2 separate regions of the Homo sapiens genome follow, and region 2 is linked to region 1. The links are contacts of gene promoters, found by promoter capture Hi-C in blood cells and fetal thymus (Javierre and others, 2016). All regions are on one chromosome and are shown on one strand. The core of a region is centred on a gene start or on the middle of the fragment in contact, and the rest is flanking DNA. Distances in the headings are between cores, read along the strand shown.

Region 1 (3,504 bases), core at 670-3,169:
TTATACAACATGATTGGTATGTCATGAAGTCACTCTTCTGCGCTTCCAGGCACATGCACTTGAGTTATTTTTAGGAGTGTAGTTGTGAAAGATTTGCAGAGGGGAGGCCTTTCCCGCCCAGTCCTCAATCATGATCAATGGCATGACTTTATAAGGCTGCCAGGAGTAAGGAGTGCTCTGGTCCTGAGTCACAGTACAGACCCACAGCCCACAGGCAGCCTGAACTATGACCCCGTCCCCTCCTCCCCGGCATGCCACAGTGTAACCAAGTGTACACACATACACCTGCTGCGTGCTTACTGCATACCACCACAGCCTTCCTCTGGAATCTAAAGCAAGACACCATTTTTCACATTTTCCTGTAATGTAATGCTTGAACTATTTCAGTAAGGAGAGGCTAGGATGGGCTGAATTAAGTCTCAAGTAAACAAGAGTATATAAACTTGCCAATATATTACAACTAGGGGTTGGTTTTAGATTGACAAACTTTTAGGATGAGAACTACTTTTTTTTTTTTTTTTACAAAAACAGGGTCTCACTCTGTCACCCAGGCTGGAGGGCAGTGGTGCGATCTCGGCTCACTGCAGCCTCGACGTCCCAGAATCGAGGGATTCTCCTGCCTCAGCCTCCCAAGTAGTTGGGAATACAGGCAAGTGCCACCATGCCTGGGTAATTCTTATTTTTTTTTTTTTAAAGACGGGGGTGGGGTGGGGGTCGTCTCACTATACTGCCCAGGCTGGTCTCAAAACTCCTGAGCTCAGGCAATCCGCCCGCCTCAGCCTCCCAAAGTGCTGGGATTACAGGCGTGAGCCACCGTGCCCAGCCGAGAACTACTTTTTCTAGGGACTAGGTCACTGTATCATAAGCTTTAAAATCTGTGTCGTGATTTTGGGTTCCTGATGTCACGTCTAGGTGATTCTAAAATTGACCACCGCTTGTCATCGTGCCTTGAATGTTATCATTTTTGTCTCTCACTTAGAACTTTGTTACTTTGATACAAATTCACATTGGAACCACTTAGTTCCTAGAGTCCCTTACAACAAAATCCTCTGCATCAAAAAATGGGATTTCTTTCTCTCATCCCTCTGAAACACTAAAGGCTTGGTATTCTGAAGCCAAAGGGTACATACAAGCTCACAGGCCTTCACCCAACATCCAGGAAAGCAATTCACAGGTGCTGGGCAGTCCACAGAGTCACTGAATTATCCCAACAACCCTGCTGGGCGGCACTAAAGCTCCATTTTACAGGAGAAGAAACTGGGGTGGCGGCGGTGGTTATATAACTTGTCCAAAGCCACACAGGCCTGGGCGTGGAGGCGCGGGGCTGTTATACACACGACTCCCAAACCTGAACTCTTCCAGTCTTGGCCCCGATCCTGCGAGACCTGCTCCTTCCGGAAGAAAGTCAAGTGGAGCAGGGAGAAAATGTAATCCTCTCCCAGGAAGCAGCCCGGGTCCCAGGGCGGCGAGGCTCTAGGGACGTTTCCGCCGCCCGCAGGCTGCGCGTGATTCAGCCTCAACCCTCCCGCCGAGCCCCCGCCGCCCCGGCAGATGGGCCGCCGCAACTGGCCCGTGTGCGCTTCCGGAAGCGGGCGACTCGCAGCTCCACGCGACGCCGAGGGGCTCCGCGCCGGGACCGGGCGGGTGCTCGGAGTTTCGGGGACCGCACGGGACCGAGGGCAGGCGGGCGGCCACCCCCCTTACCCCCGCGTCCGGGGCGGGGCGGGCGGCGCGGGGCGGGGCCGGGTGACGCGGCCCCGCCGGGGACCGGGAGAAGCGGGGACGCGGGGCCACTCACGCTGCCGGCTCCGGAGGCGGCACGCGGCCAGCGCTGCTCCGCTCCGGGGCTCTTTACCCCGGAGTCGGGGCCGGGCGCGCGGGAAACGGTTACCGAGCGGACCTGGACGCCCTCTGCCTTCGTCATTTCCTGCCGGCCGGTCGGTTTCCGGATGAAACGAGGAGCCAGGTCTTTTTTTTTTTTTTTTCCTTTCCCCTTTTCAGTTTTTTGAGCCGGAGAGACGCAGCGGCGGCCCCAGTGCCGCCCCCGGGCGCGTGAGTGGAGCCGGGCTCCTTTCCCCTACCGCGCCGCGACCCCCGCCCGGGCTGCGCGCGCCGCCTCCCGCGAGCCCCCGGCCCGACTCCCGGGCTCCCGCGGGTGGGGGCCAGGGCTGGTCGGCGCCGGCGGGGCTCGCGGCGGCGGCGGGTTGCGTCCCCCGCGCCTGCTGGCCCACGTGGACCTGGCCGTCGCTTGCCGTGCGGCGCCTTTGCGAAAACTCGACGGAAGTGGCAGGGACCGGGCATTACCTGCGAGTGCCGGGCGCCTCCTGCTCCGCTGTGCGCGCTTGGGGTGGGACTCGGCGGGGGAGGGGTCGTGTACATTGTCCCACCAGGCGCAATGTAGCCGGGCGGCGCAGAGGATTTCTTTTTTGGTCTTGAGAGCATAGAGTCCCTTTTCATATTCACGTGTACTCTTAAGAAAGCGTCTGTTCTCCAAACTGGCTTTCCATTCTCCCCGTCCTAAATGGTGCGTGGCTGACACCGTAGTGTTTTCAAAACTGGATATGGCCAGGATGCTATAGCATTGTCAGTGTAAGTCCCTTTTGGGTATTTTTATTTAATTGTGTAGTGACTTGACAGAAGTGTTTCCCAGCTTGACCTAAGTAATGAATTTGCATAGGATTTCAGCATCAGTATGGAAGTGATCAGATGTCAGTGGCTGGTGCCACCTTGCAGATAAATGGCCACTGGTCCACGTAGTTCGTCTTTACTATACATTTTGATTAAGTTCTCTAGGACCAGCTGACTGGTAATTATAAGTCACATGAAACCCTGCAGAGATGAGAGCTTACATTGAACACTTCTTAACAAGTTTTCTATTCTTTGTTTCATCTGTTACAATTAAACTCACCTTCGTCTAGGGTAAGACCATTACTTTACGCAATAACATACTAGCTTAATTTACGGTATTTATATGTATTTATATATATTGTATATACATAATCATACATATAATTCTATAACATTTAGTTTGACTCTAAAGTTGGAAAATCAGGAAAATAACAGGTGATGTTGAGTACTGATTGTTTGCCGGGCCTGTGCCAAATGGTGTGCATGCTTTATGTAACTTAATCTAAAAAAATTTGAATACGTGAGTTTGATTTCAGTGTGTCCAAATGTGAAACGTGTACATTATTGTTATTGTTTTGTTTTTTTTGAGACGGGGTTTTGCTCTCGTTCAGGCTGGAGTGCAATGGCACTGTCTTGGCTCACTGCAACCTCCGCCTCCCGGGTTCAAGCGATTCTCCTTCCTTAGCCTCCCAGGTAGCTGGGATTACAGGCGCCCGCCACCACGCCCAGCTAAGTTTTGTATTTTTAGTAGAGACGGAGTTTCACCATGTTGGCTAGGCTGGTCTCGAACTCCAGACCTCAGGTGTTCCGCCCGCCTCGGCCTCCCAAAGTGCTGGGATTACAGGCGTGAGCCACCGCGCCGGGCAAACGTGTGCA
Region 2 (3,650 bases), core at 17-2,516, 140 kb after region 1:
TTTTCAACAATTACAAAACTAAACCAAATTTCCGCAAATAGTTTGTTCTACCCAGGAGAAGCTTAGCTGTGTAACAGAGAACCAGTCAGAACAAAGATGTAATATAGTAATTAGAGTACTCACAAACAAAGCCTTATTTTCTAGAAACATAAGACATCAAAAAAGGCCACATGCAGAGAAAAAATATGGCTACTAGATAGGTTGTAAGATCTCTTTTGATTATATTTGGGGTATGTTCATCATTCAATCTACAAGATAAATTGAACCTATGAATAACTTCTAATGCGTTCTCTTACCTTATTCTCCCAAGAGATTTCTGTCCCTAGAGTATTGTCTGTGTTCCATTTCTGGGTGAAGGTAAGTCCATAGTTACAGACCTTATATTTGGTTTCTAGGTTGCCTGATGCTTTCCCTGTATCAGTGTAAGCATGACCAGAAGTAGAAAATTCCTGGTAAGCAAGAAAAAATAATTACTTTAAAATTAGCTCATCAAATAGAAAATATTCACTTTGGAAAGCAGTGTTCAATGTATCAAAAACAATACCATTTACTGCTTGCCACAGCCCTACTCTAGAGCAACTTCTTTCCTCCTTTCCCCTTGCTTTTCCAGTCCCTAAATATTTTAACCAGTTCTGCCAGGCGCAGTGGCTCATGCCTGTAATCCCAGCATGTTACGAGGCCAAGGCGGGTGGATCCCTTGAGTCCAGGAGCTCAAGACCAGCCTGCGCAACATGGCAAAACCCCATCTCTACAAAAAATACAAAAAATTAGCCAGGCATGATGGCACGTGACTGTAGTCCCAGCCTGAGCCCAGGAGGCAGAGGTTGCAGTGAGCCGAGATCATGCCACTTCACCCTAGCCTGGGCAACGGAGTGAGACAGCTCAATACCAGTTTCAGATCTTTCCATTACTCTACTTCTCTTATTAATATCTCTTGTTCCATATACTCTCTTACCAAATGGTAATCCTAAATTCTCTCCTTTAAAAAAGAAGTATCTTTACTGAAAACAAATGCCTTTACTAAAAAGACCAAAAATATTGTATCTTAAACATTTTACTTTCATGACCTAAAAAAAGATTATCAGTTCTCTGCTATATGTTTCAAACTATCAGTTAATTTCAAGGTCCTTAAAAATCCCAAAATACTGCCCTCCTCCTTTTTAATAGGGTCAACACTTTACTACTTCCTTTTAAAAATGTTTTTTTTTATTGTGGTAAATACATGTAACATACATTTTACCATTTTAATAATGTTTTAAGTGTACAGTGAAGTGGCATTAAGTACAGTCACACTGCTGTGAAAACTTTAATGCTTTTGTGTGCAAAACTGCAAAACTTCTGCTTAGACAATTTCAATATTTGAAAGTACTACCCATTTTTCAAAATAAAGTAGAATGCTATAATTTATCCTTCTTTCCCCCTTTCTATCCTGTCTACCTTTAAGAGTGCTTTCTATCAAACAGTTACTATGAATGAGACTCTGTCTCAAAAAAATAAAATAAAATAAAATACATCCTTTGCCCTAGTTCAGTGCCCTTTAAGTCATATGACAATAAGCAATTAGAAATGGACCTCCTTCTGGGGAAAGCAGACAGCACCTGTCACTGACAATCTATGAACTGTCAAGAAAAAACATTCTGATTGGTCCTGTTTTAGGGAGCATTTCTGAAATCCTGCCAACAGTAATGAGATGCTGCCAACCCTGACCAGTCTTTTTCACTGCCTGCAACATGAATCCTCTCCTTAACAAATGCCCTGTCCCCTAACTCTAGTTCTACAGGCAGATGAGACAACTGGGAAGTTATGTTCTGTTTATCAAACCACACAGAATGGTTTCAAAGAGAGTATCATGCTGCACATTTAGGGGAAGGCCTTAGTAAAAAAAAAATGATAACATGTTAATCATGTTTAACTGTTCACATAATTATTTTAACGTGACAATCATTTTTCTTTTAGTAGATCCAACTATCTAGTGTTTTATTTTTTACATTTACTTTTCACAAACTTGACAAGTATAACAAATGCAAATCTTAATTTTGGTGCTAGAAAAACCTTATGCACAAAATTAAGGTAGAGGGGTAGTCTACATTTCTCCCTTGTCAGCATCAATTCTTAGTTTGAAGGTCTGTCACGAATCTAAAATGCCACAGGTACAAATCTCAGAAAAAAAGGCTAGAATTGTTCTAAGTTGAGTTCCAGGCTCACGATTCACAGTTCAGTTTGTGTCTAATTTCATAATTTGGTCAAACAAGTGCAAAACACATTTATAACATGCATATAACATGCATATAGCTCTACATTAAATGCTTAGTAAGCAACAAAACAAACAAAAATGTTACTGTTAAGTAGATAGCATATGAGAAAAATATCAAGACACAATCTAAGAAATTTGGAACAATGATTGAAATTTATCCTAAATCAATACCAGAAACCAAAAGCAGCCATAAAAACAAGCATACGAATAAGCTTTTTTTTCTTACCATCTGAATGAATATTACCACACAACAGCAGCATGAAAGGGAGATAAAATTTTAGTTGATAATTTTTGCAACACAAACCTAATGAGCAAATTCTGGAACCTACACAAAATGAGAATGATTCTTCTATTTTAACAGAACTATATACACAGCGTGCCCATCTTAGTAAGGGAGGTGCATATATATTTATTTACTCCAGAGAAACCCAGGGAAAGAATGATGGTCACAAACCATGATTATACACAGTATCATTAGAATTCCACATGTCTTTGTCCTTCTAATTATACATTCAGAAATAAAATTTTCATGGGTTTGAATGGATAAATACCAAAAACGATGCAGCCAATGAGGAGAAATCAGAGTAAGGTAAATTAAAACTTAACCTACTTGCTGAGATTTATTAAATAAAAGCAATTTTTTCTGAGACGGAGTCTTGCACTGTTGCCCAGGCTGGATGGAGTACAGTGGCACGATCTCTGCTCACTGCAACCTCTGCCTCCTGGGTTCATGCCATTCTCCTGCCTCAGCCTCCCAAGTAGCCAGGACTACAGGCACCCGTCATCAGGTCTGGCTAATTTTTTTGTATTTTTAGTAGAGACGGGGTTTCACCATATTAGCCAGGATGGTCTCAATCTCCTGACCTCGTGATCCGCCCGCCTTGGCCTCCCAAAGTGCTGGGATCACAGGCGTGAGCCACCGCACCTGGCCTTTTTTTTTTTTTTTTTAAGACAAAGTCTCACTCTGTCACCCAGGCTGGAGTGCAATGGCTTGGTCTCGGCTCACTGAAACCTCCACCTCCCAGGTTCAAGAGATTCTCCCGCCTCAGCCTCCCGAGTAGCTGGGACTATGTGCGTGCCACCACACCCAGCTAATTTTTGGTATATTTTTAGTAGAGACGGGGTTTCAGAATGTTGACCAGGCTGGTCTCGAACTCCTGACCTCATGACCCGCCCACCTCGGCCTCCCAAAGTGCTGGGATTACAGGTGTGAGCCGCTGCACCCAGCCAAAAGCTATTGTTAATGATACTTTGAAAATATGCCAACATAGCCTTTACTGTAGTCTTTACTTCCAATAAAAAAAACTTTATAAACATCAGTTAAAAACTGTAGAATAATGTACATGCATACGTGCAGAAATACATTTTATTTACATATTTTGTTTCGACTAATCAT

The links. Contacts are between HindIII fragments. The CHiCAGO score rates a contact against its expected background, and 5 or more counts as called.
Region 2: a fragment that was not itself captured here is called in contact with the fragment with the promoter of SMIM19 in region 1 in 6 of 17 cell types (megakaryocytes, fetal thymus, M2 macrophages and 3 more); the score reaches 11.9 in megakaryocytes.

The regions. Positions count from the first base shown.
Region 1 is chr8:42,540,000-42,543,503 of GRCh38, reverse strand. SMIM19 (small integral membrane protein 19) reads right to left here and starts at 1,919. Exons shown (of 4, transcript NM_001135674.2): 1 at 1,131-1,919. It also overlaps a transcript of SLC20A2 not described here. RefSeq lists an enhancer at 44-338 and silencers at 1,499-1,918, 2,059-2,338. The HindIII fragment of the contact is 8,293 bases long and covers 869-3,504 here.
Region 2 is chr8:42,395,511-42,399,160 of GRCh38, reverse strand. It overlaps VDAC3 (voltage dependent anion channel 3), which reads right to left. Exons shown (of 10, transcript NM_005662.7): 5 at 297-449. Among named protein-coding and RNA genes, the nearest start is that of VDAC3, 5.5 kb to the right of the region's middle. The HindIII fragment of the contact is 2,405 bases long and covers 64-2,468 here.